Regions from separate parts of the Homo sapiens genome. Here regions 1 and 2 are each linked to region 3. The links are contacts of gene promoters, found by promoter capture Hi-C in blood cells and fetal thymus (Javierre and others, 2016). All regions are on one chromosome and are shown on one strand. Each heading gives the region's core, a stretch centred on a gene start or on the middle of the fragment in contact. The rest is flanking DNA. Distances are from core to core; before and after follow the strand shown. Region 1 has its middle 12 kb from the start of CRBN. Region 2 overlaps GRM7-AS3 (GRM7 antisense RNA 3). Region 3 holds the start of EDEM1 (ER degradation enhancing alpha-mannosidase like protein 1).

The links. Contacts are between HindIII fragments. The CHiCAGO score rates a contact against its expected background, and 5 or more counts as called.
Region 1: a fragment that was not itself captured here is called in contact with the fragment with the promoter of EDEM1 in region 3 in 1 of 17 cell types (non-activated CD4 T cells); the score reaches 6.5 in non-activated CD4 T cells.
Region 2: a fragment that was not itself captured here is called in contact with the fragment with the promoter of EDEM1 in region 3 in 1 of 17 cell types (fetal thymus); the score reaches 10.1 in fetal thymus.

Annotation. Positions count from the first base shown.
Region 1 is chr3:3,189,935-3,192,802 of GRCh38, reverse strand. No RefSeq gene overlaps it. Among named protein-coding and RNA genes, the nearest start is that of CRBN, 12 kb to the right of the region's middle. The HindIII fragment of the contact is 5,139 bases long and covers 1-2,868 here.
Region 2 is chr3:6,708,878-6,711,793 of GRCh38, reverse strand. The region is part of intron 2 of GRM7-AS3 (GRM7 antisense RNA 3); the gene reads left to right. LOC105376944 (a long non-coding RNA gene) reads right to left here. Exons shown (of 8, transcript NR_188695.1): 3 at 1,251-1,341. Among named protein-coding and RNA genes, the nearest start is that of GRM7-AS3, 95 kb to the left of the region's middle. The HindIII fragment of the contact is 2,569 bases long and covers 94-2,662 here.
Region 3 is chr3:5,186,207-5,188,985 of GRCh38, reverse strand. EDEM1 (ER degradation enhancing alpha-mannosidase like protein 1) reads right to left here and starts at 1,279. Exons shown (of 12, transcript NM_014674.3): 1 at 672-1,279. The coding sequence starts at 1,180. RefSeq lists enhancers at 291-340, 2,762-2,779 and silencers at 491-780, 831-1,000, 1,241-1,650. The HindIII fragment of the contact is 7,598 bases long and covers 1-2,489 here.

The DNA of each region.
Region 1 (2,868 bases), core at 70-2,569, 2.0 Mb after region 3:
AAATTCAGTGCTCTGAGAAGGTGCTGGTCAGCTACAGCCAGGGTCTCTTGACAGGTTGAAAGGCTGGTTCTGCAAATGTTGGAAAAACTACATGCTGGATGTGATTGCTGCTACAGGAACACAATGACATTGGAGAAGTGGGACGAGCATGATGTTCCCAGGAGCAAGAAGCAGACAGGAAGGAGTGAGTCCCTTCTTTCTCCAGCCTTGTGGTTTCCCTCTAGTACCTCCTAGGGGAGCACAAAGCCAAATACCTCCCAGAGAGGTTGGAGCTAAGAGACAGTAGGTTAATTACTGGCAAGAGATCAAAAAGGCAAACCAATGAGTGGGAGAAGATGCACAACAAACAACGGACTTGGCTCTAGATTTGAGTGATATATAGCAGGTAACAATAGTGTAACCAAAATGTGGGTTAGTTGCTTATCACTTGCAGAGTTCAATTAACAAGAGTGAGGTCTGGTATAAAGAAAGTGATTTATTTCCAAAGCTAGCTTAGAGGATGAAGCACAGGCATCCCACCTTTAAATGTACCGCTTCCCTCTTGGAGAAGAAAGTGAGCACTTTTAAAAGACAGGGGAGAAAGTGAGCAAGGGCAATGGTCCTCATACTAGCTTATCTACCACGCAGTAGAGCTGGTGACTGCTGGTGTTTTCCTGGGCAAGCTGTTATCTCTCAAGACAACTTCCTGGAGGGTGAGAGTTCCCTAGCAAACATGCTGTGGTTTGTAAATTAACTGTTAAGAGTTCTGTCTTAGAGCACACAGTTACGTGAACTTACCCAGTAAGAGATGTCTGAAGGAGAGGTAAAAGCCTATATAGTTCCATTTCTGAAGGGCTAAATAGGATGTGGGGAACCAGGAGAACAATAAGAGAGAAAAACCACCTCTTAGAAAAATGGGGGTACTGGGTTACAATTGCTAGGCTTTGAGATAGTGCTTACCACGTGCCAGCTCTGTTCTAAGGCTTCACCATGTTATTATAATTCATCTCACAAAGGCCCTTTAAGAGTAAATTATCTTCATTCCCACTTGAAAGATGAGGAAACAGAGGCAAGAGAGTTTAAGTAAACTGCCCAAAGTCTTACAGCCAGGAACTGCCAGATAGAATAAAATTCAGATAGATTTAATTCATTTTTGTCTTCATACTCAAATTCAAAAATAGGATTTACTGTTAAAACAGCTATAAAAAAATTATAGTAAATGAGACATGAAAAGTAGTAGCAGGTCTCCTGACTTAAGGGAACTTTTACAGTAATCAATAATTTCTAGTCATAAAGATATGGCTCATAAAAATGTGGCCGATGGCATCAAAATCTTTTATCTTTTACCTTCTAGAAAATTCTTATCTGCTTTTAGTTGGTCTTTCAAGAATTCTTGTCACTATAGTGAAAAAACATAGATTTTAGGGATGTGGGTTGTTTAAAATTATGTTTACTGACTGTTGATCTGCTTTCTGCACTTTGTTCTTGCAGATGATAATTGTCTGGGTGAGAATAGTTCTTCTTTGCCTTCTCTGGAATCAAAACTTAGGCTCAAACTGCTCCCAAAGCAGTAACTCATAGGAAAACTCCAGATTATTCATTGCCTGTGCATGATTGTATGAATGTAACTGAACTGCCTACAGGCCCAGTAATTTCACTTTTCTCACCTGTGGATGCAGCCTACACATGCTGATCGGTCAGAGATTTGGAGAAAATAGAATTCATTGATTTATTTATGCTTGCTCTGAAGTGTAGGGTAAGCTGAAAACCTGACTTTCTTTAAAAGGCAAGTCAGTGTTGGCAGTCTTCTAGAATTTGAGTGGGGAACTAAGGCTTATTGGGCCCCCTCTGTGTCTCAAGCACTGTGTGGCAAGTAATGCCACTGCCTCCTTATTGGTGTCTCCTAGTCCACACTTGTCCCGATTCTTCTGTTCCTCCACCCTGCAGCCAAATACTGATTTCCAAATGCAAAGCTAATCATAAGATTCTGCTTTGGGGAGGGTGAAAATTCTTAATACGGTCCACAGGAGCTAATTTTCTTGTAAACTGCAACCTCAACCTCCTGGGCTCAAGCAATCCTCCTGCCTCAGCCTCCCAAGTAGCTGGTACTACGGGTGCATGCCACCATATCTGGCTAATTTATTTTTAATAGAGACAAAGTCTCACTGTGTTGCCTAAGCTGGTCCCAAACCCCCAAACTCAAGCGATTTTCCTGCCTTGCTCTCCCGAATTGCTGGAAGTGCTGGGATTGCAGATGTGAGCCACTGTGTCCAGCCCTGCATCCTTCTAATAGGGACCCCTGAGATTAGATTGAACCCATCTAGATATTTCAGGAAAAATTCTCCATCTCAAAATCCTCAACTTAACACATCTGCAAAGCCTCTTTTGCCATGTAAAGTGATGTATTCACAGGGATGTAGATTTCTTCAGGGGACCATTATTCAGGTTGCCCAAACCCTACCTCATCATTCATTCTTCCCTTCTATTTCTAGTGAAGAAATGCCTCTTGCATTTGCCAAGGCTTACATCATAACTTTCCCATGTTCTGTCCTTTACCTCCTCCCACACAGTGTGCTCCTCCTCTCAGCAACTAATTCCCCTCATTGTCTTCTAATGGAGTTATCAAGTTCTCTGAATTTGCATTCCCAGCTCTGCTACTTTGATGCTGTTAAGTAGTCACAGAGCTTTGACTCTCTGGTTGCCTTTAAGTTGCCTTACAGATAACAACTATCTGTAAGGCAGATATTTGGGACTATCTGGAGGATTAACTCAAATAATGAATGAAAATCTCTCTCCCAGAGCATGGCTGGTGGAAAGCATTCCACACATGTAGGTTGTTGGATTCATTACCTTCAATATCGCCCTGTTTCTTCTGTCCTATCCTGGGGA
Region 2 (2,916 bases), core at 129-2,628, 1.5 Mb before region 3:
ATATATTGCTTGAGCATTTTCCATGAGGCTGTGTTCCCTGTCTCAAAAGGCATGTCATTCCACCGATGCCCTACTTTAAAAAAGAAAAAAGCTTTCCTTATATGACTTCAAGGAGTAAGAAGTGATGTGGCGAAGCCAGTAAGAAATGCAACTGTAACTCTGCATGTGCAGGTGCTATCTAATTTATCAATGAAGCGTTTCTTTCATCTTGGTACACATTCCTCATTGTCCCCATTTTGCTAAGTAGAAACCTCAAGCAATCACTCAGAAGACTAAACACCAAAGAGATTAAGAATTAAAGCATGAGTTCTCTGAGAGCAAGATCCGGGATGTGTATTCTAGGTCAATGACTGAAACTCAAACTCAAGACTGAAAAGATGACTGAGAAAACTTTCTATTTCCCCAATGTTAGAAATAAACCTTGACATCTTATTGGCTTAATAAAATTAACATTTCCTTCTGGTCACATAAATGTAGTTTTAGAACAGATGGTCTCCTTCCATCTTGTAGCTCTGAAACGTCTCTTTTTCATCTGTAAAACGATGGGGTTGATGATATGGGTATCTTTTGACTTCTTCCCCAGCATCCATTTTCCCCACTTCTTTTAGCATTGTGAATTTCCATTTGTAGAGAAACCATATGGTCTGGGTAGTATTGGCTGTACTGCCCAAAAAAAGAATGGACTCCGTGTGGCTAAAGTTAATCAGTGCATGCCGTCTTCTCATGATGGGAGTCATAAAGACTCCAAAAATGAGGCACATACTATAAACGGAAGAATAAACTAAGGGAAAGTGATGCTGGCCTTCATGAGCTTTTTGAACCACTAGATCAAGCCTCATCTGAAGCATGACATATATTTGAACTATTACTTTACAGAGATAATCAATTTCTTTTTTGCTTAAGCAAGTTTGAGCAGTGTTTTCTGTTGCTTGTAGCAGAAAGAATTCTGATACAGATGATAGAACTGATATAACCTCTGAAGTTCCTTTCAGCCGTAGAGCATTGAGCCTCCATTTTTGTTTTCTGATTGAGGATTATTTGGAATTAAACACAAAATAAATTCAAAAGGGCTGCCAGAGACAGATCAAGAGTACTCCAGAGAGATATGGCCAAGGTGAAGAAACCTTGGCAGAAAGCCTCTCTTAAGGCATATTCATCTGAGGAGAACTGATTTATGTTAGGCTCATGTCTGCAGTATTTTACAACTGTAATGGCCAGTAAATAAAAAGAAATTTTTTCTGTCAGCTTACCACCTCTCTTTTCATGAGTGGAAGAAGTTGAAGTGCTCCATCTTCTAAAAATTATATGAAGGTCAACTAGGACTCCCATTCTATCTTCCGCCTGGAGGAAAATGATTTTGCATTTTCAAAGTGTAATGTGGCATCATGTTACTATCTCTAGAATCAGTAACGCCTATGTTTTTAATAAATTCAAAAATACACTTAGGCTGTACTTCACAATGATGTTTGCATTTCAAATGCAAAGATTAAAATGTATTATATATTTGATTGCATTGTATTATACAACTTGTGGATAGTAGGCACCTTCTTTCTGTGTTCTTGGTTATTAATAACACTAGAGCGCAAAACTTCAGAAAACACTGTGAAAAATATACGTGTGTGTGTGTATACACACACACACACACACACATATATATATGGGATATTTCTTTTTCTCATTTTAGATGCAGACTTTTAATTTTTTTAGTTAAAAAGAAGATCACAGCTAGCTAATGATCAGGTCTCTTCAAAGCTGATCATTAGCTAGCTGCCTGCATTCAATTTATATTTTTTGAATTGAATAAAATTGAATTCTGGTTACTAAGTTATTTCTTTTAGTTCACAAAGAATTATCTGAAAACCTTGAAAAGGTAACACATGGGATAGTGCAATGTATTACTGTGGCGTGTGGTGCTTAAGAATAATTCTGAAGCCTGTTTTCAATTTCTCATTCTATCCCTTCCTTACTAGCCGTATGACTGAAGACAAGCCGTTTCTTTCCTCCGTGTCACATTTACTCTATTTCTAAAGTAGGGATGATAATAATAATAGTAGAAAGGGTTATTTTGAGGACAAAATTTGTGTTAATATGTATAAATACTTAGATCAGAAACTGGTACAAGTATTGCTATTTTGGTTCCTGATACCACATTTCCATTTGTGGTAGGTTTTTATGAATTTACTTCAGTTTGATAAAATACAATTGTGGAAAAAAAAAACCTAAGTGAAGACTCATACAGTAGTATGTAGAAATGAAAAAAAAAAAAAAAAATCATGTGCTGTATTGTCCCAAAAGGAAATAACAGAAAGAATGAAGGGGAAGCAGAATTTGAAGAGCAAATATTAAATACGGACATTTGTGTATCTTCTTTAGATAAATATCTTCTGGCCAGGCGTGGCGGCTCATGCCTGTAATCCCAACACTCTGGGAGGCCGAGTCGAGTGGATCACTTGAGGTCAGGAATTCGAGATAAATATCTGTTCATATTGTTTGCCCACTTTTTAATGGGATTATTTGTTTTTCTTTTTTCCTTTCTGATTTGTTTGAGCTCCTTGTAGATCCTAGATATATTAGTCTTTTGTCAGAAGTACAGTTTGCAAATATTTTCTCCCATCCTGTAGGTTACCTGTTTGTTGAATATTTCTTTTGCTGTACAGAAGCTTTTTAGCTTAAACAGGTCCCATTCATTTGTTTTTGTTTATGTTCCATTTGCTTTTGGGGTCTTATTCATAAATTCTTTGTCTAGGCCAATGTCCAGAAGAGTTTTTCCTAAGTTTTCTTCTAGAATTTCTATGGTTTGCAGCCTTGGACTTAAATCTTAATCCATCTTGACTTAATTTTTGTATATAGTGAGAGATGAGATACTACTTTACCCGACCCAGAATGGCCATTATTAAAAAGTCAAAACACAATAGA
Region 3 (2,779 bases), core at 30-2,529:
TGACGTTGACAGTCAATCTGGCATCCAGTGAATTTCACCTCAAGTATCTGGACCCCAAAAGTGGGCCACATAGCTTCCCTCCCCACCACCTAACTATCCTCAGCCTAAGAAGCAGCCCCTGTGAAGGAGAGGCTGTAACCCCGTTCTGCCTCAAACTCAATGGACGGCTTTGGAGAAGTCAACTATAGGCTTTTTACATAGAAAAGACGTGGGTGTGGCAATGTGATAGAGGTGGGGGTGCGAGGTAAAGGCTTGTTCTGAGGCTGCGTTTACACGGGGGGCATGATGGAGATTTCATTTAGAGTTTATGCTCATCCGGAGGAAGGGGTCGGATGGAAGTGGAAAGCCCTCCAAGCCAGCCCTTGGCACTGCCACTGTCCCTTCTGGTCCTGGACCTCAGTATCCTCACGCGTAAGACACTGAGCTGGACAGCAGTTCTGAAGTTTGGAGATTCCGGGAGAATCAGGAGAGGAAGGCCACCGGCCCACCCCGCACCCTCAAGCTCGGGGGTCTTCACAGGGACTCACACGGGACAGGGCGCGGGAGCGCTGCCCGGGACCCTAACGGCCCTGGCGCCCTCGGGGGCCCCGGAGGACAGAGGGCTGCACCCCGGCGCGGAGGGCGGAAGGAAGCGCGTGGGCGCGCGGCCCCGGGCGGCGGGGGCTACTCACGGGTCCCCGCGGTCGGGCCCACGGCCGCGGCAGTGGATGGGGTTGAGCTCGTCCTGGGGGAAGGCGTGAGCCATGTAGTTGTCGTAGCCAAAGACGAACATGCCCCGTGCCAGGTCGCGCATCTGGGCACGCAGCTGCGGAGGGAAGGCGCCGCTGTAGCGCTTCTCGTACTCGTCCGGGCCGCGGCCCCGGCCGCCCAGCACGTAGCCCCAGTTGGCTGGGCCGCACATCCCCGGCCCAGGACGCCGCGGAGCCTTGCGCGGGCTCTGCGCTGCCCCGGTCCCCGGCGGCTGCAGCCACGACGGCCCGGATACCCCCCCAGGCCGGCCCACGGGCCCCGAGGTGGGCGACGCGGGGCCGTCGGGGCTCCTCAGACGCTGGAAGCCGAAGCTGAGCGGAAAGCGCTGGTAGAAGCCCATGCTGGGCCCCAGCCCGAAGACGAGCCACAATACTCCATGGAGGCCAAGCCGGAGGAGCACCAGCCCCAGGACGAGCGCTCGCCATTGCATGGTCGCGCGGGCGCCGCGGGCATTATTTTAAAGCGCGGGGGCCTCCCCGCCGACCACCGCACCCCGCGCTCGCCCCGTAGCCCGGCTCGCTTCCCCTTTAAGGAACTCCCCCGTGACGCACCAGGAACTAGCCCATCGTCCCCAACCCCCAGGCTCTCCGGCGGGCCGGCCAGGCCCCACGGTCGCCCGCCCAGTGGCCCGGGATTGGCCCGGCCTGGGCCCGGCCTCGCGGGGCGCGGCCCAGGACTCCCTCCCACGCAGTAGGCCGCCAGGACGTCCGCGACGCCCCGAGGCCCCGCCCCTCACCCGGGCCCCGCCCCAACTCCCAAGCCCCGCCCCCCTGGGCGGTCCGTAGCCCGATGGGCTGGCGTGGCGAGCAGGAGCCGCGCCGGCCCGCGAGGGAACTTCCAGCCAATGGGAGAGCGGCACGGCAGCGCCCGCCGGACGCTGGACACAGACGTGACCCCAGACCGCCTGGCCTTGGGTGGATCGGGTCTCTGGGCAGAGCGTGTGTCCGGCAGAGCTAGGACCGGAAAAAGCCACTCTAGGTCTAGGTTAGGAGTGATGACAGTTAAAAGATATATAAGGAAAAGAAGGAAAGGATCGTTTCTGTATAAAACGAGCTATTTTTGCATATCGAGCGCATAAGTTTTATAACTTAGGTGTCTGTTTATGGAGAGGGTGGGATACTACCTTTTAGCTCAAGGAGTGCACAAAACGGTATCATGAATTCTGCTCTTTTGATTCAAACACCCAACTTTGAAGAATCGCTCATGGTGCTTGTAAAACACGTATCCCCAGATCCCTCCCTAGACCTATCGAACAACTCCAACGGTCTCGGGAATGTGCGTGTAAGTACTCTTGGACAGTTCTTAGAAACTGGAAGTTTCAGGAAATACAAAGTTATGTTATATTGCTTTTGTCTCGGAAATAGGATTTTTTTAAAAGGGGGGGGCGGGTTGGGGGTGGGAATGAAGGCTCCCACCACCACCAAATTATTTACCAGATATATCTAAACATGTCTTCTCCTGTCCCTCCCATCCTACCATCTCTCCTGTGCACCCGCAATTAGTGACCTAACCTTTGAGGTGTGGGGTAGATTCCCAGTTAAATAACTTTACCCCTCTGTATCTACTTCCTATAATTAAGAAGATTGCAAATGTTAGCTCTAAAGGGCTATGGCTTTCACATAAAGATTCAATGGTTTAGGCGCTTATTTATTTTGCTTGCTGCATTTGGAGTTGGCTGTAAGTTTTGCCCTCCCTAAGTTTAGACCCTATGCCTGTTTCATCAGGGTTTCTGAAAAGCTTGGGAAGCAAGACCTGACTAGACCCCCAAATCTGATATTGGCTGAATGGCCGACCAATGGAGTGCATAAGAAGGTAAGTTGTCATGTGGCACTCTCATCACATTTTCAGGGTAGAGGACTTTCTGAAATACAGAGGAGGTGTAAGGGGAACTAAGAAAACACTTGATTACAGCACATGGTAGCTGGCACATAGGAAGGTCCTTACTGTTGGCTGAGCCTTGTTCTTTCCCAACATTGAGACATCGAGAGCAGCCCAAGCAGCAAAAAGATTACGAAGACAGCTTGAGCCA